Regions from separate parts of the Homo sapiens genome. Here all the other regions are linked to region 4. Evidence: promoter capture Hi-C in 16 types of primary human blood cells and fetal thymus (Javierre and others, 2016). All regions are on one chromosome and are shown on one strand. Each heading gives the region's core, a stretch centred on a gene start or on the middle of the fragment in contact. The rest is flanking DNA. Distances are from core to core; before and after follow the strand shown. Region 1 holds the start of DCP1A (decapping mRNA 1A). Region 2 overlaps NR1D2 (nuclear receptor subfamily 1 group D member 2). Region 3 overlaps RPL15 (ribosomal protein L15). Region 4 holds the start of EPM2AIP1 (EPM2A interacting protein 1).

Evidence for each region. Contacts are between HindIII fragments. The CHiCAGO score rates a contact against its expected background, and 5 or more counts as called.
Region 1: a contact is called between a fragment that was not itself captured here and the fragment with the promoter of EPM2AIP1 in region 4, in 1 of 17 cell types (naive CD4 T cells). The highest score is 7.6, in naive CD4 T cells.
Region 2: a fragment that was not itself captured here is called in contact with the fragment with the promoter of EPM2AIP1 in region 4 in 4 of 17 cell types (naive CD8 T cells, total CD8 T cells, total CD4 T cells and 1 more); the score reaches 9.1 in naive CD8 T cells.
Region 3: a contact is called between a fragment that was not itself captured here and the fragment with the promoter of EPM2AIP1 in region 4, in 2 of 17 cell types (naive CD8 T cells and non-activated CD4 T cells). The highest score is 12.6, in naive CD8 T cells.

Annotation. Positions count from the first base shown.
Region 1 is chr3:53,344,612-53,349,980 of GRCh38, reverse strand. DCP1A (decapping mRNA 1A) reads left to right here and starts at 2,438. Exons shown (of 10, transcript NM_018403.7): 1 at 2,438-2,598; 2 at 5,039-5,079. The coding sequence starts at 2,464. RefSeq lists enhancers at 1,944-2,713, 2,249-2,839, 2,840-3,430. The HindIII fragment of the contact is 990 bases long and covers 3,387-4,376 here.
Region 2 is chr3:23,948,593-23,953,502 of GRCh38, reverse strand. All of the region lies in intron 1 of NR1D2 (nuclear receptor subfamily 1 group D member 2), which reads right to left. Among named protein-coding and RNA genes, the nearest start is that of NR1D2, 5.8 kb to the right of the region's middle. RefSeq lists a silencer at 4,471-4,765. The HindIII fragment of the contact is 1,040 bases long and covers 2,729-3,768 here.
Region 3 is chr3:23,918,859-23,923,992 of GRCh38, reverse strand. It overlaps RPL15 (ribosomal protein L15), which reads right to left. Exons shown (of 4, transcript NM_002948.5): 4 at 3,004-4,797. The coding sequence ends at 4,492. It also overlaps a transcript of NKIRAS1 not described here. Among named protein-coding and RNA genes, the nearest start is that of RPL15, 4.3 kb to the right of the region's middle. The HindIII fragment of the contact is 2,659 bases long and covers 2,546-5,134 here.
Region 4 is chr3:36,989,483-36,994,813 of GRCh38, reverse strand. EPM2AIP1 (EPM2A interacting protein 1) reads left to right here and starts at 1,683. Exons shown (of 1, transcript NM_014805.4): 1 at 1,683-5,331. The coding sequence starts at 1,737. The coding sequence ends at 3,560. It overlaps MLH1 (mutL homolog 1), which reads right to left and starts at 1,296. Exons shown (of 19, transcript NM_000249.4): 1 at 1,151-1,296. The coding sequence starts at 1,266. RefSeq lists enhancers at 595-1,106, 1,023-1,242, 1,613-1,962, 2,083-2,402, 2,433-2,512 and a silencer at 3,519-3,568. The HindIII fragment of the contact is 4,668 bases long and covers 812-5,331 here.

The DNA of each region.
Region 1 (5,369 bases), core at 2,632-5,131, about 16 Mb before region 4:
TTATCTTACAAAAATTTTCAATTCTGTTGGGGATGTCAATTTTTTTTTCTTTCCAGACGTAGTCTTGCTATGTTGCTCAGGCTGGTCTTGAACTCCTGACCTCAAGTGATCCCCACCTCAGCCTACCAAATAGCTGGGACTACAGTTACATGCCACCATGCCCCCCCCTTTTTTTTTTTGGATGGAATTTCTCCCTCTGTTGCCCAAGCTCTGGAGTGTAGTGGTGCAATCTTGTGTCACTGCAACCTCCGTCTCCTGGGTTCAAGCTATTCTCATGCCTCAGCCTCTTGAGTAGCTGAGATTACAGGCATGTGCCACCACGCCCAGCTAATTTTTGTATTTTTAGTATAGATGGGGTTTCACCATGTTGGCCAGGCTGGTCTCCAACTCCTGACCTCAAGTGGTCCACCTTCCTCGGCCTTCCAGAGTGTTAGGATTACAGGCGTGAGCCCACACATCTAGCTACCATACCCTTTTTTTTTTTTTTTTTTTGAGTCTTGCTCTGTCGCCCAGGCTGGAGTGCAATGGCACCACCTTGGCTCACTGCAACCTCCGCCTCCCGGGTTCAAGTGATTCTCCTGTCTCAGCCTCCCAAGCAGCTGGGACTATAGGCGTGCGCCACCACGCCCGGCTAATTTTTGTATTTTTAGTAGAGACGGGGTTTCACCATATTGTCCAGGCTGGTCTCAAACTCCTGACCTCAGGCGGTCTTCCCACCTTAGCCTCCCAAAGTGCTGGGATTACAGGCATGAGCCACCACGCCCAGCCTCCATGACCTTTTTAACGAAAGAAATGTTGCTTTTTAAGAAGTCTGGCGGGGATAGAACTCCCTATAGTCTCCATGATTTGTTTTACTTGTTAGCTAGTGCCTAACTCTTTCAAACGCTTTAAAATGCTCAACAGACACTTACCAATGAAATGAGTGATCTGCTTAATGCTTTAAATGAAGCAAGACAAATTAAACCCTTCATGGACTCTTCCCAGGGCTGGACAAAAATATTTATGTGGGTCAGACGCAGTGGCTCACGCCTGTAATCCCAGCACTTTGGGAGGCCAAGGAGGGCAGATCACCTGAGGTCAGGAGTTCAAAACCAGCCTGGCCAATGTGGTGAAACCTCGTCACTACTAAAAAAAATACAAAAATTAGCTGGGCGTGGTGGCGGGCGCCCGTAATCCCGGCTACTCTGGAGGCTGACGCAGGAGAATCGCTTGAACCCAGGAGGCAGAAGTTGCAGTGAGCTGAGATCGCGCCACGGCACTCCAGTCTGGGCGACAGAGCGAAACTCCATTTCAAAAAAAAGAAAAAGAAAAAGAAAAAATTAGCCAGGTGTGGTGGCGGGCGCCTGTAATCCCACCTAATTGGGAGGCTGAGGCAGGAGAATCGCTTGAACCCTGGAGGCAGAGGTTGCAGTGAGCTTGAGATTGTGCCACGGCACTCCTGCCTGGGCAAAAGAGCGAGACTCCGTTTCAAAAAGAAAAAAAGAAAAGGGCCGGGCGCGGTGGCTCAAGCCTGTAATCTCAGCACTTTGGGAGGCAGAGGCGGGTGGATCGCCTGAGGTCAGGAGTTCGAGACTAGCCTGGCCAACATGGCGAAACCCCGTCTCTACTATAAACACAAAAATTATCAGGGCATGGTGGCGCGCCCATGTAATCCCAGCTACTGGGGACGCTGAGACAGGAGAATCGCTTGAACCTTGGAGGCGGAGGTTGCAGTGAGTCGAGATCGCGCCACTGCACTTCAGCCTGGGCGACAAGAGTGAAACTCCGTCTCAAAAAAAAAGAAAAAAAATCCACTTGTACCTTCTGCTAATCAGTGTATATATTCAAGGCAACTTGAATCTATGCTCCTGGGGTGCAATCCTCAAGCTTGGCCCAAATAAACTCTCTGCTTGCATTTATTTTGCCCCAGAGTCTTCTTCCTTTTAGGTCGACACATCCATATCTGAGACCTAGGGTAATTTTCTGGGCTTCTCGCCTCTCCCTTTCCCCCATGTTTTTCTGTGCTCTCTAAACGGGCCCGGTAGAGTCCCGCATTTCCACATTCCACAGACATGTTTTCCTTCTGTGGCCCCGGGCCCTGCCAGACAGCGCACCGCGAGGCCGGCACTTCGGCGGTCTCCAACCTTTGCCTGGAAAGAGCTCGGCAGGCGAGCTAGAGGCCAGATCCCAGGACCCAGTCGTTTTAGCTCAGGGAAAGGAAGCGCCGGAGCTCCAGCCTGCAAGCTCCACTACGCAGCCTTGGACACCGCCCACATCGTAGGGCCGCGGACCCTGACAACGCCGGAACCCGGCGCCCGGAGCGTGCGCGCGGCGGACCAGAATGGCTGACGTACCGCCCTGCCGCGAGGCCCGCGTAGAGGCGGAAGTTGAGGGGACTGACGCAGATGGGGGAATTTTGCCTCGATGGCACTTTCCTGTCCGCGACTCCGCCCCCACCAGAGGGGCTAGGCTCTGGGATTCAAGATGGAGGCGCTGAGTCGAGCTGGGCAGGAGATGAGCCTAGCGGCCCTGAAGCAACACGACCCCTATATCACCAGCATCGCAGACCTCACGGGCCAGGTCGCTCTGTACACCTTCTGCCCCAAGGCCAACCAGTGGGTGAGTGCCGCCTGGCCCTGAGGACGGCCACCCGGCCGCTGCCGTCTCTTAAAGGGGCCGCGCGGGTTACTGTGGGGTGGGGGGGCACACTAAGAGGCCAGGGCGGTGGAGACGAGGCCAGGGTCTGGCCAAGAGCCTAGCCAGAGCCTGAGGGGTGTCGGGTCCGCTTGGGATTGGGGGATAGGAGTGAGAGAAGTGGCTCGAGACATCCCAAGGAAAAGCCAGTGGAGGGGAGGATTGGAGCAGGATCAGTCCCTTGGCGTCGGGTCTGGGGACGTGGGCGACCTGCCTTCTTTGCAGATACATTGGGAGTTATAAGACCGGTGGGGTCAAAAGGGTGCCTGAAAGCTTGTGTTTGAGGCTTTGCGGATTATTAGATAAATTATATGTACATTATCTATAAAATAAACACTCCTCCTCTCCCCCTGGCAAACGTAAATGAGAGCCCCTGTCGCAGAGGTCATTTGGGTTTAAAGTTTAAAATCCAATTAGTTTCGATTCTTGGAAGGAGGGGGTGGGTGGGTCCGGCTTTAATCGAACTACACAGAGTTTCGGAAAAGATTCCAAGGCACTTAGGAAAAGGGCTTCCGTGTTCACTGGATCCCCGAAGACCTTTGTACAAACAAGAGAGACCCTGTAAATGTGTTTTGTTCCATCTATGATGCTGGTGATGTCATCTCTGAATGCTCCCCTCGGACTCAGTACTTTCTGGCTTTCGTGCACTGGGGAGGGTCCGAAAAGTCACATTCAGTGTGTTCACTGATTCTTGTTAGCCCCTGCTTGAAGCTTTGTTAGTTGTTTAAAAAGCATAATTTCCCACTTTCTTGTAATTGACCCTTCCTAATTAACTCATTCAGCTACAGGCTTTACACTTAGAAAGTAATACGTAAATGCTTGTTGGATTGAATTCACCAATGACTGGAGTTCACATTTCAATAAGATACGAAATCCTTAAACTGACAGAACTCTGGAAGATGACCGTAGTATGTCGTTTACCCTATAATACAGTTGCATAGATTATATTTATCAGTAATTTATCGAAAATCATTTGGCATTTATGAACAGTTAATTCAGATGAAGAGTTTTTATAATCACGTTGTTTATCTTTGCCTCCTGGAAGAGAAGGAGATATGGGAAGCCACAAGGAATAAAATTGTAGATTGTTTTTTAAATGTAGCTATTTTAGACATTGCCTTAGTTTGAAATTTTATGAATCTTTTTTCTTTTCTTGGCCTATATATAAATTTTGAAATATGGATTGCCGACAAATGGTGAAGACTTGGGGCTAGAGTTTTCCTAGTTTTTCACAAAGGCTTTCAATATTTTAAAATTTTACATTGTGGAGTTCTGTTTTAAATATGAAATACAAGCTATAATAACCTGAATTGAAAAATAAGCTGCTACTGTTTATTTGGATCCTGGCACATAGAGCATGACAAAAATCTTTTCCCTCTTTATTATTTTACAGTGAGTTGTAACTTTGCATGATGTTTTTTGGTGGGCAAATTTTCTTTTACTGTAAGACAGTTGATTACCAGTTTCTTATAGTAATAACCTAACATTTTAAAGGTAAGAAAAAGCCTCTGAATCCTTAGGAAGGAAAATAATGATATTTAAGCTAGGGTAGTACTTCTGGAAGAAATCGAGATGATCAATTTTCTAAATTTTTTAATCCCAACACATTCAATATATGACTAACATTTAAAATGTTAATAATGCGTTGATTACAGTAAAATATTTAGGTCCATTGTAGGCTGTAAATTGCAGACTAATAAGCTTATTTATTTTTTAAAAAACACTGAACTGTGTTTAAAACCTAAATACACTCTTGTCACAGAAAATGAACTATGGTAAAGGCCTCCAATAATTACACTGAGGCAGGGTATACTTTCAGTATTCAAGATTCTTCAAGTTCTAAAAATAACAAGCTGATTTTGTTTGGTAGTAATTCTTAACCACAAAATTTGCTAGTTGTCAAAATGTACGAAAACTCCCTAGTGATGAAACAAAGTATCCTATAAGAAAGTTTCATTCCTTTCCTTTTTTAAAATTAACTTGGATAAACTTAAAAGAGAAGAAATTGCAGTATACAGGACCTTAGCTTTAAAGTTAAGAAATCTGGCTAAAATATTTTAGCTATAAAAAGTGAAGGTTTATTCTATGATTTTCTCCTTTACTAATTAAAAAAGAAAAATACTGCAGATACAGATATGTTGCTGGATTAAATATTGCATATGCTTATGCACTGAAAGGATACATTAGAAATGGTAACCACAATTTGTGGAATGAGAGGGAGACTTTACCTGTTCAAAAGTGGTTAATTTTATAATAGATGAAATGAAACAAGTTGATCTTAAACGTGAAGCATTACTTCTCCATGGGGACTATTTGGGGTCTGATTATGGGGAAAAAAAACTAATTGAGTCATTGTCTTTCATAGGAGAAGACTGATATAGAAGGGACCTTATTCGTATATCGAAGGTAAGTTTTTAAAATATGTATATTTGTTTTTAACAGTCTAGTGGTGAACAATGTGAAACGGTTCAATTCTCTTGTACATTTGTCTTTGGAACCGTCCTGCTAGTACCCTTCAAGTTTTCATCTTTCCCTAGCTGTGAAATCTTAACCAGGTTCTTTCTTTTCTCTGAGCCTTTCTGTGATTCAGAATAAACTGAACTAGAATTTATATTACCAGCCTAGCAAAGCAATTTCAAAATAATAATGATTGAGTCTAAAATGGATGCCTGCGTCTCTCTTCCTACCCCCATATT
Region 2 (4,910 bases), core at 1,999-4,498, about 13 Mb after region 4:
AAAGATGCTAGAAGAATGCATGCTATACCAGAATAACAGTAAGGCTGAAGCTAATTCCCTCTACACAGAGCTATTGTCAAAATGTGATTCCCAATTTTATATAACCGCCACAACCCTTCTGAAAACTGGCATTTTTTTTTTTTTTTTTTTTTTTTTTTTTGAGACAGAGTCTCACTCTGTCACCCAGGCCGGAGTGCAGTGTCACAATCTCGACTTACAGCAACCTCCACCTCCTGGGTCCAAGCAATTTTCCTGTCTCAGCCTCCTGAATAGCTGGGACTACAGTCACATGCCACCACCCCCAGCCAATTTTTGTATTTTTTTTTTTAGTAGAGATGGGGTTTCACCATGTTGGTCAGACTGGTCTCGAACTCCTGACCTCAGGTGATCCACCCACCTTGGCCTCCCAGTGCTGGGATTACAGGTGTGAGCCACCGCACCGGGCCTATCAATCATTTTTAAACAAAAATCCACAAAGCAAAATGCTGAGGCCAAAACAATCCCAAAAAGACAGACATTGCCGTCTTTAGGCAAGAAAAAAAAAAACAGGCAGAGAAATTTAGAGTCACTTTTAGTCTGTCATGTAGTAGATATCAGATGTGTTTTTAAGCACCAATTATATATATTGAGGCTAAGAAACAAACCCTCTGAGGAGGAAAGCACAACCACAACTCTCAAGGGGTTTGAGTGCAACCCAGAAGGGAAGATAAAACAGGTGCCTACTATGCCAAGAAACACACAATGTTTTTCATCAGACACGATTTTTTTTTTTTTTTTGAGATGGAGTCTCACTCTGTTGTCCAGGCTGGAGTGCAGTGGCACAACCTCAGCTCACTGCAACCTCCGCCTCCCGGGTTCATGCGATTCTCCTCCTTCAGCCTCCTGAATAGCTGGGAATACAGGCGCCCGCCACCACGCCTGGTTAATTTTTGTTTTTGGTTTTTGTTTTTTTTTTAGTAGAGACAGGGTTTCACCATGTTGCCCAGGCTGGTCACGAACTTCCGACCTCAGATGATCCGCCCGCCTCCACCTCCCAAAGTGCTGAGATTACAGGTGTGAGCCACCGTGCCCAGCCCAGACACAAATTTAACATACATAAATTCAACTATATGCACTTGATTTTTAAGACAAAAATATCACTAACGTAGACAATTCCATCCACTGTTTTATTCATGAAGCCTATGCCTGGACTCGATCATGAGGTGAGAGGTGCAAATCTGCTCTTCCCAGTTAAACCCACTGTCCATATGCTCTCTTGCTATGTGCATCTCACCTTAATTAATCCTGCAATTAATATTTTTCCTGCAACATGGTCCCTAACTACAAACCAACCATCTCAAAGTGTGGGCCCTGGACTAGGGGCATCAGTATCACCCAGAATCTGTTAGAAATGCAAATTATCAGGCTCCGCTCCAGATCTACTGGATCAGAAACTTTAATAAGCCCTCTTGGTGATTCTGATGCACATCCAAGTTTGAAGAACACTGCCACAAGCCAACTACTTCATCTGTGCTCCCTGGAAGACAAAGTGACCAAGGTAGTTTTCATCTACCATTTATTCTAAAATCTAAAAACTCCAAAACTACAAACACAAGAAGAAAGATTCCCAACTTCGAGTTTATTTTCATCACCCAGAGAAATTATGTAAAATACATATCCTCAAAACTAGCTGGTGCTTTTTCAGAATACATGTTTCCAAGGCCCTGCCCAGACGAGAACACATCCTCAGGAATGTGCAATTTTAACAAGCTCTCCAAGCAATTATTTGCACATTGAAGTTTCAAAATGGCTACAATCAGTGAATTCAAACACAAATTGGCCCATAGTTTTAAAGATTGATGATTTCATCGATACAACCGCCAGAATATCATTAATACCCTGTGAATCCAAAGAGAAACCAACTTAACCTAGAAACCTAGCCAGTGTCATGTTACTGGATAAAACCATTGTGCTGTCTTTATATAACTTTAGAGATCTTAAGTCCACATTAAAAATTCCAGGTATTAGCACACTGCTACTTTTTCACAGATGTCTCCACTCACAATAGGACACTTTACAAAGACAAATATTCTTAGTCCTCAATGAAATTCCAAAGGAAGATCTCACAGCTATTTGTCTTCTCTAAAATAGTGTCTTAAGTACTAAATTCACATCTAACATCTCAGGAAAATAAAAGATAAGAAAGTGATGTTTTTCCTTGGAAGTAAGACTTTCCTAGGGCCCCCATTTTCAGTCATTTATGTTCACAAGATCTGCTGACTACCTTAGCTAAGAAATAAACTTTTAGAAATTAGAGCTGGCCGGGCACAGTGGCTCACGCCTGTAACCTCAGCACTTTGGGAGGCCGAGGCAGGCGGATCACCTGAGGTCGGGAGTCCAAGACCAGCCTGACCAACATGGAGAAACCCCATCTCTACTAAAAATACAAAATTAGCCAGGTGTGGTGGCGCATGCCTGTAATCCCAGCTCCTCAGGAGGCTGAGACAGGAGAATCACTTGAACCCGGGAGGCGGAGGTTGCGGTGAGCCGAGATGGCACCATTGCACTCCAGCCTGGGCAACAAGAGTGAAAACTCCATCTCAAAAAAAAAAAAAAAAAAAGAAAAAGAAAGAGAAAAGAAAAGAAATTAGAGCTATGCAGATGGCTTAAAAATTGGTTGCAAGCACTGACGGGGCAATGGACTGTATCGTAATTAATTAACCAAAAAACAATTTCCTTTGCAAAAGCTTCAATATCCAACCTAAAAGAAACTACTGGGCTATTATCAATCCAGCGAAGATCCAATTCCTGTCTTAAGAAAACAAGCATCTGTGCCAGGCACCAGAAAATCAAAGAAGACCCATCTAGAAGTAGCTGCATTCTCCTAGCAAGACCTTCAATATTGATTTAGTTGTCTTGGCATCTATTCTTGCTACTAGACACCCATCTATGAACCTGACTGATAGCAACCCAAATGGGTTAAATTTTAATTTCTTAGAAGAAAAGGAGTACATCTAGTAGTTCCTCAACCTAATGAAGAAAGGAAAGTGAAACTACAAGTCACCAAGTACCTACTGGATGTCAGGAATAAAATGACACAATTTCATCCTCACAAGAAGAACTCTGTGAATTAACTTTCATCAAATCATTTTTTAAACAAGGAGCTCAGAGAGGATAAGTCAGCCACTAAGTGGCAGGCCAAAGTTTAAAGTCAAGGTTGTCCAATTCCAGAGTACAAACTTATTTGGTGAGAAGACCTGAGCAAGCAAGTCACTTTCAATCTTTCTAAACCTGAGTGGTCTTCTATAAAATTGGAATATCTGCCACTTATTACAAGACTGAAATGAAATGGCATTCATAAGTGCTTTTTTCATACACTGTTTTTGATGATAAAGTAAGAAGAGTAAAAATCCCCAAACCAGCAAGTCCCAACACCTCCAAGAAACAGGCAGTATGTACCTCTTTGAAACCCTGAGCTAAAATTAGCTGAAGCAGTCTTCTCTATTTTCAGTTGAAAGGGACCCTGGACCTGGGCCAGGTTCCCAGGCTAGGGCTTACCCAGTGGTCAACTTCAGACAAGCCTTAAGTCAATATCCAATTTTGTACTGCTAGGAAGCACTGATATTCCTGCATATATTGGGGTCTTCTTACCCATTTTCTACACTTGTCCATCATCAAAACCCTCACACTTCCTCTGTCCACCATCCTGGAGATTATGTTTGACTTCAAGTCATGACTGTACTTTTCTGCCTTGTGACTTAGAACAAAACATTTTATCACCAAGAAGCTTTAGTTTCCCTCATTTTAAAAGTGTTATAAATAATTTCTACTCCAAGGGTGGTAGAGTAGATCTAACTGAAGCACTAAAATTCCAATTGTGTCCTAGGTGTCAGGGCTCCAGAGAACAGCATGGTCCTTTCCCTAAAATGCCTTATAGGCCAACTGGGGAAACACCTATGTTATTAGGAGCAATGTTTCACACACATGATTGTGACTGCTGAGGATCATACTAAAGAGGGCAGAAATCAATAGGGGCAAACACATCCAAGGTTGCAATATCTAAGTGGGGAATTGAAGACTGTTTAAATCATCAAAAGAGACATTTTTTAAATAGGGTGACACAAAAATAAATGGTGTGTTTTTTGTTGTTTTTTTTTTTCAGACGGAGTTTCGCTCTGTCACCCAGGATGGAGTGCAATGGTGTGATCTCGACTCACTGCCACCTCCGCCTCCTCGGTTCAAGCGATTCTCCTGCCTCAGTCTCCCAAGTAGCTGGGATTACAGGCACCCGCCACCACACCCGGCTAATTTTTGTATTTTTAGTAGAGACAGGGTTTCACATGTTAGCCAGGCTGGTCTCGAACTCCTGACCTCAGGTGATCTGCCCATCTCAGCCTCCCAGATTGCTAGGATTACAGGCATGAGCCACCATGCCCAGCCAAATCGGTCTTATTTTATAAAATAGACATTATTTTTATCTCCATGTAAATTACTGGAGAAGGGAGGTCAAGGTGTAATCTAATGTCTGGAAATAAGCCAGCATGACTAAAGAGAGGACTGATGAAACTGGGAGGCCCTGCAGATGACTATCCTTTTCCACTAGCTATAACCTACATATATCACTGCAAATTGAGTGGGGATCCATACACATGCAGTATCTCCTTCACCCTCAAGAAGACAGGACCACCAAGTTGCGTATAAATCTTCAAATATTATGCAGGCTAAAGTACATTATAGCACAGTAGTTAACAGTTTGTGTTCCCAAGTAAATTTTGTGGATTCAAATTCTGGCTCTACTACTTGCCTGAGTAAGTTATTTAGCTTCAATTTACTTAGCCCCGCATCATTAAGATGGTGGCAACGGCACCTTCCTTCATGGAATTAACATGAGGAACACATGTAAAAGGCCTGGCACAGAGTAAGAAGCTGAT
Region 3 (5,134 bases), core at 2,626-5,125, about 13 Mb after region 4:
AGAGGCCAGGAAAACAATGTAGTTTAGTTGTGTTTTCAGGGGGAGAAAAAGCTATGGTATGCACATAGCTTTGCCTCTGCCACACTCAGAATGCAAAATAAAAGTAGAGAAGAGTATCATTTCCCCCTAACAGACTGGCAGATATCCCAAAATTTGATTACATACATTAAAGAGGGTGTGGATAAACAAGTCCTCTCCTACTTTGCTGGTGGTAGTGAAAATTGGTTCAACTTTTATGGAAGACAATTTGGCAATATCTATAAAAAATTATATACATACAATTTTTAACTCTGCCATTCTACTTCTAAGAATTTATTCTACAGATGAATAAAGATGTATGCACACATTTTTCTTTTTGTAATAGCAACAGATTGGAAGAAATTTAAATGTCCATCAGGAGGGTCCACATCCAATGAATCATGGTACATCCACATGATGGGATACCATGCAGTTATACCAAAAGAATGAAGTTCCAGCCGGGCACGGTTGCTCATGCCTGTAATCCCACTACTTTGGGAGGCTGAGATGGGCGGATCACCTGAGGTCAGGAGTTCGAGACCAGCTTGGCCAAAATGGTGAAACCCCGTCTCTACTGAAAATACAAAAATAGCTGGATGTAGTGGCAGGCACCTGTAATCCTAGCTACTCGGAGGCTGAGGCAGGAGAATCGCTTGAACCTGGGAGGCAGAAGTTGCTGCGAGCCAAGATTGTGTTACTGTACTCCAACCTGGGCTATAAGAGCAAAACTACATCTCAAAAAAAAAAAAAAAAATGAAGTTCCTCATGAGCTGATAAAGAATAAGCTCTGAGATACATAACTAAACAAAAAAATCAACAATGTGTATCATATCCTACCACTTGGGGAAGAAAAGGAAAAAATACATATGTAGGCCAGGCACCGTGGCCCACATCTGTAATCCCAGCACTTTGGGAAGCAGAGACAGGAAGATTGCTTGAGCCCAGGACTTTGAGACCAGCCTGAACAACATGGTGAAACCCTGTCTCTACAAAAAATACAAAAATTAGCCTGGCATGGTGGTGTGCACCTGTGGTTCCAGCTACTCGACAGGCTGAGGTGGGAGGATTGCTTGAGCCAGGAGGTTGAGGCTACAGTAAGTTGTGAACGCGCCACTACACTCCAGCCTGGGCAACAGTGAGACCCTGTCTCAAAATAAAAAAATATTGTTAAACTGATCACCTTGCCTCCAGGGAGAGGAACTAGGAGGCAGAAGGGTTTGTACTGTAGAGCCTATACTTATCTTTTGAATTTTTAACGTTAATGTATTATCTATCAAAAACTTTAAGTTGGCCACGTGCAGTGGCTGACACCTGTAATCCCGGCACTTTGGGAGGCCAAGGCGGGAGGATCACCTGAGGTCAGGAGCTCGAGACCATCCTGGCCAACATGGTGAAACCGTCTCTACTAAAAATACAAAAATTAGCTGGGTGTGGTGGTGCGTGCCTGTAGTCCCAGCTACTCGGGAGGCTGAGGCAGGAGAATCGCTTGAACCCGGGTTGCAGTGAGCTGAGATCGTGCCACTGCACTCCAGCCTTGCGACACAGTGAGACTCCATCTCAAAAAAAACCAAAACAAAACAAATAAACTTTAAGTGTATAGGATTTGAATTCAGACTGTCACTGTATGACTTTGAGCAAGTTGCTTCATCTTTGTGTTTCCTCATTGGCAAAAAAGGATTAATACTAGTAACTGCACCTTTTGGGATTGTAAGAAACCAATTGTTATTTTTGAGACAAGTTCTGGCTCTATCACCCAAGATGGGAGTGCAGTGGTGTGATTTCGGAGACTACAGGCGTGCAACACCATGCCCAGCTGATTTGTTATTTTTTGTGAGATGGGCTCTCACCACGTTGCTCAGGCTGCTCTCTAACTCATGAGCTCAAGCCCACCTTGGTTACCGAAAGTGTTGGGATTGCAGGCGTGAGCCACCGCACCCAGCCAATTGTTGTTATTACTAAAGTAAATTTGGGCCCGGTGTGGTGGCTCATTCCTATAATTCCAGCACTTTGGGAGGCCAAGGCAGGATTGCTTGAGGCCAGTAGTTTGAGACCAACCTGGGCAACATAGTGAGATCCTGTCTGTACAAAAAATAAAAATTGGGCTGGGGGTGGTGGCTCACGCCTGTAATCCCAGCACTTTGGGAGGCCAAGGCAGGTGGATCACTTGAGGTCAGGAGTTCGAGACCAGCCTGGCCAACATAGTGAAACCCAGTCTCTACTAAAAATACAAAACTTAGCTGGGCATGGCAGTGTGCGCCTGTAGTCCTGGCTATTTGGGAGGCCGAGGCAGAAGAATTGCTCAAACCCGGGAGACAGAGGTTGCAGTGAGCCGTGATTGCCCCACTGCACTCCCACCTGAGTGAGAGTGAGACTCCATCTGGAAAAAAAAAAAAAAAAAAAAAAACTCAATAATCAATGTTGCTGTGTGAATTACATGCCAATATAGAAATAGTAAAGCAAATGGGAACAGCTTGTGGGGCGGTCAGGGTATAGCTAATAAAGTGACCCTTAATATTGGAGTAAAGCTTTCCCATCATAAAGGCATTAGGAAGTGTTTGGTGTATTTGAAGAACAAACAGCAAGGAGCCTGGGGTGTGGACTGCAGTAGGACATGAGGTCACACATAAAGTGGGAAGATCATGAAAGCTATCATGAGGACTTTTGATTTTTTTGCACGGGAGTGCCATGATCAATTTAATAGGATCCCTTGGACTACTGTGTGGAGATAAAACTGTTGGGTAGCAAGGACAGGAACAAGGTTTTCTTGTAGAGACAATGCTGACCTTTGGCCCGAACCCTTTCTCTCCTTCCCAAATTAGTCATGTTTAAGGATTTTTTTTGTTTTTAGGTCTCACTATGCTGCCCAGGCTGGCCTCAACAAATCCTCCAGCTTGTCTCCCAAAGTGCCAGGATTACAGGCCTGAGCCACCACACCCAGCTGAACAGTTTTAGATAAAAACCTAATTCATGCAATGATCAAAGAACTGAGAGAATAAGTACATTTTATGCTATCTCAAATTATATTATTTCTATAATCACATTTTGATGCCTTTTTGCTGGTTAGGGCATTTGGTTTGCTTTAAAGTACATTAGCACTGTAAGATGACAAAAAATAACAGAAGGTCCATTTGTTTTAGTTTAATAGACATTTATTCCTTCAGTTGAACAACCTCTACACAATTAAAATGTATGACTTAAGATCTTTTCTTTTTTTGTGAAGAAATTTAGGTCTCAAGAACTTTTATGAACTTGCTATGAGTACTTCCTGGAAATCAATTAACTGAGTCTTTTGAAACCCCTAGAGAAGATAGGAGAAAATTGGTTCAGAACGAGCATTTAAATTAAGTCAGCAAAGTCAGAATTTAAAATTGGGCAATTCCTTGTCTACATTTTCTTTACACTCAAATTGACCCTGGACAACAGTAGTCTAGTCTCCTGGAAGACATGGTGCAAACAGAAATGCAATGTGGTGGTATACTCATAGTCAAAGTGGGTGCACAAGTGATGGTCCAACTTTGTGGAATGGTAAGGATTTTTAGGGTTGTTTGGCCAGAACAAGAGAAATAACTGCAGAAAACACATATGGTTGGAAACCATGCGCTTGTGACTTTTTCTGTAGCCTATGGGAGTGGACAGAGTGGGTAACCCAAGATGTTTTTAAGACTGACTGGACTAAGAATGACGTACTTATAGCCAACTACTTTCCCCCTAATGTGACTGAAGGGATTCATAATGATCACAATTAGCATTACGGTTAAGTATTTTAGGGTTGACGTCTAAGCTCACACTTGAAAGGTATTTATCTAATGGCCACTGGCTCACCAGCTTCCCACCCTAGCATTCATTGCTAGCTTACCAATCTTAAGGCTAATAATTTTATCGCACATTCAACTTCAAAACACACCAGTGTTTACCATTACCACTAATCACTGAATGCCATGAAGCCATGGCACTGAACCAGGAGCTTTCACCTTTTATGTGAATTTAAAATGGTACTGTGGAGGCTGAGGCAATTTTCTTCAGGCTAACCCAGATTTTCTAAAGCCCAACTTAAAAAGTCTACACCTGCCAAACTAAAAAAAACGCAGCCACTTGAAAATAAACCAGCAGAGCATTGCCATCACTCCGATAAAGCTGCAGGTTTCATCACATGCACCAGACAAATCTACAGGGCTAGTTTCAGTTCTCTCCTTTTAAAGAATTTATTAAGCCTGTTATACCACACAGTATGTTTTATACACTGACATACAACTCCCTAATAAGATAAAGCAAAGACAAAAAAGTTTATCTTATTAGAAACAAGATACACCACCACTTATTGTCTTCAAACATTATTGCACTTTAACTTTCTTAATTTGACAAAGCATTCAAGAAACATCTGCAGACTAGTTTTAACAGACAAATAACACCTGTAAGCAGACATGACTGTCCTAAATTGTTTATTAAGTATGAATTTTACAAACTTTACTTATATTAGCGGTAACGGTGGAGCTGGAGAGTATTGCGCCTTCTCCAAGCTGCCCGGCGAGAGCCACCAATAGTGTGGTGGAACTTGTGGCCCTTTCCAAGGCCACGGCTCTTTCGGCCTGCAGATGTCAGCCCACGCATCTCCCTGTGCTTGTGGACTGGTTTGGTGATCCACTGGGTGTCAGGATTTCTTCTGATAGCTTTATGGAATGGATCAATGAGGATAACCTCAAAAAATTTGTATGTGGAATCTTCACCAACCCAGTAAGAATTCAGGACTCTCAGAGCCCCACAGTGGCGTCCAGCTCGCTCCTAGAATAGGAAAAAAGGCCCAAGGTCAATCTCCCACATTGCCTATAGCAGCAAGTCAGAAAGAATTTTAATTCTCAACTCTAGTTCACCACCAGACAAGAGTCTTTTACTACTCAAGTTATTTACTAAGCATTTCTCCCTAGACTATCACAAGTGTAATGAGATAATGTAGACTTGCTAAAACAACACACATAGACTGAAACACATCATTCCCTCTTAATACTCCATTCCTGACTAGGGCAGGAATATGTTAATATCTGGGTAACAAAATTTAGGGTTTGGGGACCTTATCTTTTTCCATACAACTGAGAGCTCAGCAACGTTTAGCTTTAAAAAT
Region 4 (5,331 bases), core at 434-2,933:
AAAAAAATAAAAATCTCCACTTAAGTAATTAATTACAAGCCACCAAGCTAGTATGTTTAGTTTTGTTTTACAGTATTCTGGCACAGTACAATAATAGGCCCAGTTGTCCTGTCAATTCATTCTAACACAGTAGAAACAAAAGCCAGTCTGCCATTGCTTCTGTTACTACTATTACAAGTGAAAAGGAAAAAACATCCCCAGGTTCTTGCTCCTTCTTTCATCTACCTTCCAATTCTCTTCCTTTCCTTCAGTGGTCCTTTCTACCCACTGTTCTCTCAGTCCCATTGCCCTGAATAGTTTATACTTTCACAATAAATCCCTCTAGAAACCTACCACTCCAAACTGAAGCATTCTTTTTTCTATTAACGTACGGACGTCACTAACAACTGATTTTAACAAAATAATCTGACATAACGTTTAGGTGTATTTTGGGCTTGTCTTTTTGGAAGTTTATAGTCTGCACTCACTTTTCCTTCCACATGTTTCAAATCTCTTCCCTTCACATTTTTTGTCACAGTTATAAGCTTCAAAATCCAAGGATGACCCATAAAATCTGGTATCTTCGAAGTGCGTCCTCCGAAATAAAGGACAGGAAAACACTAAGAGGGGTCACTAATTTAACAATAGGGTAATCAGAAGTCAAGCCCAAAGTGCATCAGCCTGTCCTAAAACTACAAACGATTTGTTTTGAAAGAAACTCAAAATGAATTGTGCCTTTGGATGTGAACAGATGATTTCTGGAATGAATGAAAAGCAAGAAAACAGTAACACAGTACCCTCTGAAAAAAGGTTTTTCTCCCCATCTTAAGCTTTTATACATCTTTTAACTTCGCATGTTCTGCATACATAATTTTAAATTAAGTGGCTTCCTTACTTAGTTAACGGTACCATTAAGACAACACTACGTATATTCCTCCACTTACACTCCAAACAACCCTTAAAAGGTCTCGGGGGAGAGCGGTAAAGAAACACACGGTCTGCGGAAAAGGAGAAGGCCTGACTGGCACGTCAGGGAACCCGGCGGCCTCCGCCGTTGTGGGCATGCGCTGTACATGCCTCTGCCCGGGCAAAGAGGCGTGTCCGCGCCATTGAGTGACGCGGCCCGTTAAGTCGTAGCCCTTAAGTGAGCCCGGCTCGACTCCCTCCGTACCAGTTCTCAATCATCTCTTTGATAGCATTAGCTGGCCGCTGGATAACTTCCCCCGCCGCGATGCGGTTCACCACTGTCTCGTCCAGCCGCCGAATAACCCCTGCCACGAACGACATTTTGGCGCCAGAAGAGCCAAGGAAACGTCTAGATGCTCAACGGAAGTGCCTTCAGCCAATCACCTCAGTGCCTCGTGCTCACGTTCTTCCTTCAGCTGTAGCTTACGCCATCCAGCCCCACCCTTCAGCGGCAGCTATTGATTGGACAGCTTGAATGCCAGTCAAATTTCTCAACTCTGTGGGTTGCTGGGTCTCTTCGTCCCTCCCTGAAGCGGCTACTGCCCGCTACCTAGAAGGATATGCGCTTGCGCGTTAGAGATCGCTGTCCGCTCTTCCTATTGGTTCGTTTTTAGGAGCTCGGGGAATACGAAATATCCAGCCAATAGGAGCAGAGATGCCGGAACCGGGCTTGTGTGCCTCTGCTGAGGTGATCTGGCGCAGAGCGGAGGAGGTGCTTGGCGCTTCTCAGGCTCCTCCTCTCCCCTTGCGGCCTTTCTAACGTTGGCCCTGCTCTTGTGGCCTCCCGCAGAATGTGGATGACGCCCAAAAGAAGCAAGATGGAAGTCGACGAGGCTCTAGTTTTCCGGCCCGAGTGGACCCAGCGTTATTTGGTGGTGGAGCCTCCGGAGGGCGATGGGGCCCTGTGCCTGGTCTGTCGCCGCCTCATCGTAGCTACCCGCGAACGCGACGTCAGGCGCCACTACGAGGCTGAGCACGAATACTACGAGCGGTATGTGGCGGACGGCGAGCGCGCGGCCCTGGTGGAGCGTCTGCGTCAGGGCGACTTGCCCGTGGCCTCCTTCACTCCTGAAGAGAGAGCTGCTCGTGCAGGCCTCGGGCTCTGCCGCCTCTTGGCCTTGAAGGGTCGCGGCTGGGGTGAGGGGGACTTTGTATACCAGTGCATGGAGGTGTTGCTGAGAGAGGTACTGCCCGAGCATGTAAGCGTCCTGCAAGGCGTTGACTTATCTCCAGATATCACAAGGCAGAGGATCCTGAGCATTGACAGGAATCTACGCAACCAGCTTTTTAACCGAGCCAGGGACTTTAAAGCCTATTCTCTTGCCTTGGACGACCAGGCTTTTGTGGCCTATGAGAACTACCTCCTGGTCTTTATCCGCGGTGTAGGCCCTGAGTTGGAGGTGCAAGAAGATCTTCTGACCATAATCAACCTGACTCATCATTTCAGTGTTGGTGCGCTCATGTCGGCAATCCTAGAGTCCCTGCAGACAGCAGGGCTTAGCTTGCAGAGAATGGTTGGACTGACCACGACCCATACTTTGAGGATGATTGGTGAGAACTCAGGACTCGTCTCATACATGAGAGAAAAGGCCGTAAGCCCCAACTGTTGGAATGTCATTCATTATTCAGGATTTCTTCACTTGGAACTGTTGAGCTCCTATGATGTAGATGTTAATCAGATCATAAATACCATATCCGAATGGATAGTTTTGATTAAGACCAGAGGCGTTAGGCGACCTGAATTTCAGACTTTACTAACGGAATCTGAATCAGAGCATGGTGAAAGGGTTAATGGACGATGTCTGAACAATTGGCTTAGGAGAGGGAAAACTTTAAAACTAATATTCTCTCTAAGAAAAGAAATGGAAGCGTTCTTGGTTTCAGTAGGGGCAACAACAGTCCACTTCTCAGACAAACAATGGCTTTGTGACTTTGGCTTCTTGGTGGACATTATGGAACACCTTCGAGAACTCAGTGAAGAATTACGAGTTAGTAAAGTCTTTGCTGCTGCTGCCTTTGACCATATTTGTACTTTCGAAGTTAAGCTGAATTTATTTCAAAGACATATTGAGGAAAAAAATCTAACAGACTTTCCTGCCCTCAGAGAAGTTGTTGATGAGCTAAAACAGCAAAATAAGGAAGATGAAAAAATATTTGATCCTGATAGGTATCAAATGGTGATCTGTCGTCTCCAAAAAGAATTTGAGAGACATTTTAAGGACCTCAGGTTCATTAAAAAGGACTTAGAACTTTTTTCAAATCCATTTAACTTTAAACCTGAATATGCACCTATTTCAGTGAGGGTGGAGCTAACAAAACTTCAGGCAAACACTAATCTTTGGAATGAATACAGAATCAAAGACTTGGGGCAGTTTTATGCTGGATTGTCTGCTGAATCCTACCCAATTATCAAAGGGGTTGCCTGTAAGGTGGCATCCTTGTTTGATAGTAACCAAATCTGTGAAAAGGCTTTTTCATATTTGACTCGAAACCAACACACTTTGAGTCAGCCATTAACAGATGAGCATCTCCAAGCCCTGTTTCGGGTTGCCACAACTGAAATGGAGCCCGGTTGGGATGACCTTGTGAGAGAAAGAAATGAATCTAATCCATAAGGCTTTGTAGTACAAGATTGAAAAACTCAACAAGAATTTAATTCTAAAAGCAAAAATTGGTTTGAGTTTTCAAGTTTACTAATTTGGATTGTGAGAAAGTACCAAGTACCAGCCGTCCAAACTGATCACAATTAAAATTCTGACAGTTGCCTTTTTTTTCATCTCAAATGGCAGCATGGGACTGAAACATGAGAATGCCACCTTTTTTAAAACTTAGTTTAGTGACAAAGTCATTGTCTTTTATGATATAGTTAATTTTAAAGAGATTTAGTATTAATGTGAGTTGAATTTGCAGTCTGTTTTTTAGGTGTTCTGAAGATAAATGCCAAAAATTTCAGCTCTTATTTTAATGGAGTGTTAAAATTCTGATTCATATAGTCTTAAATTATCAACTCCTTAAATGTGCTTTTGAACCAATTTGCAGAAGCTCACATAGCAAGTTCATAAGTTTCCAAAAAGGAAGCCCATACATAACAGTGGAGGTGTTTTGTCTAACCATCAAAATGTTTGAGACTTTTTTTTAAACATTTCTGAGTTCGAAGGTAATACTGACAGATTTCTTCCCTCTTCCCTCCCCATCACCCACCTCAGTGATAACACATTACTGATAGAGGAAGTCATTAGAATCATTTTTAAGTTTCAGATATAGGAGACTTCATGCAATTTGGAGATAAGACTAATTATTGGGGGTTTTCCTTGGATTTTTTTTTTAATAACTGGGGGCTATTTTATCAGCTTGCCTATTAAAGGACTATGGTAAGTATAGAATCTTAATGGTTGCCAGTTAGTAATTCTTTTTTTTTTTTTTTTTACTGTAGACACAAGTTTGGCCCTATCAAAAACGATGAGGAAAAAAGATTGCACTCCAGGATTAGGAGGTGTGAGATATTTTAGCTTTTTTGTCTTATCTGCGTGGGTATTGCTGCTTTATTTTAAAAAATCCTGCCTAAAGTAAACACTTTGTTTTAAAATGATACAGTATCAGATTTTGTTAGATGCTAGAAATGGATTTATTCTAAAATTTGGAACTGTCGTACACATTCTATATGTAAGATAGCACACAAGTAGAAATATTTAAAAGCAGTCTTATTCACAGATTGCAGTAATTCTGTATTTCTACTAAGATAATCTGCTTTGTGCCAAAACAGTAATTTCCAAACTTCTGTTCACCATGAAAAGGCAATCTTAAAGTTCATTATGTAAAACTAATTATAAACAGGACCCAATTTATATTCATAGATCCTCTCAAGTATTATACAATTTAAAAACTCTTGTTCCAAAGTCCTGTCTTAACTATTGAAACACCTTAATCTGTGGTTACTAATCCAGCAAATTCAAGGAACCAGGCTATGACTAAGAATTTAGGTGGAATTGATGTCTGGGCAATTAAAATAAATGGCATAAGAGCTTAAAAACCAAAGTTGTGCCAGTGGCTTTCAACTAGAGGCAGTAACCTGTCATTCCAGAGGATGCTGAGAAATGTGTAGGGGCACTTTTTTGGTTGTCATATTTACTAGGGGCTTCTGTTGGCATTTAAGCCTAAAGACACTCACCCCTGCAGTGCATGGGACAGCCTGGCACAATGAAGAATTAGCCCTCCCAAAATGTAGATTATTTTATTTCAAGGGATAGGGCAGATTACCATTAGAAGCAAAATTAAAAGTACAAGCTGGGCAAACTGACAGAATACTAGATAGGAGAGACTAATTCCAACCTTCTAAATTTGGCTAGTAAAGTGCAATAAAGGCATTGATAAGTTCTGTTAGCTCAC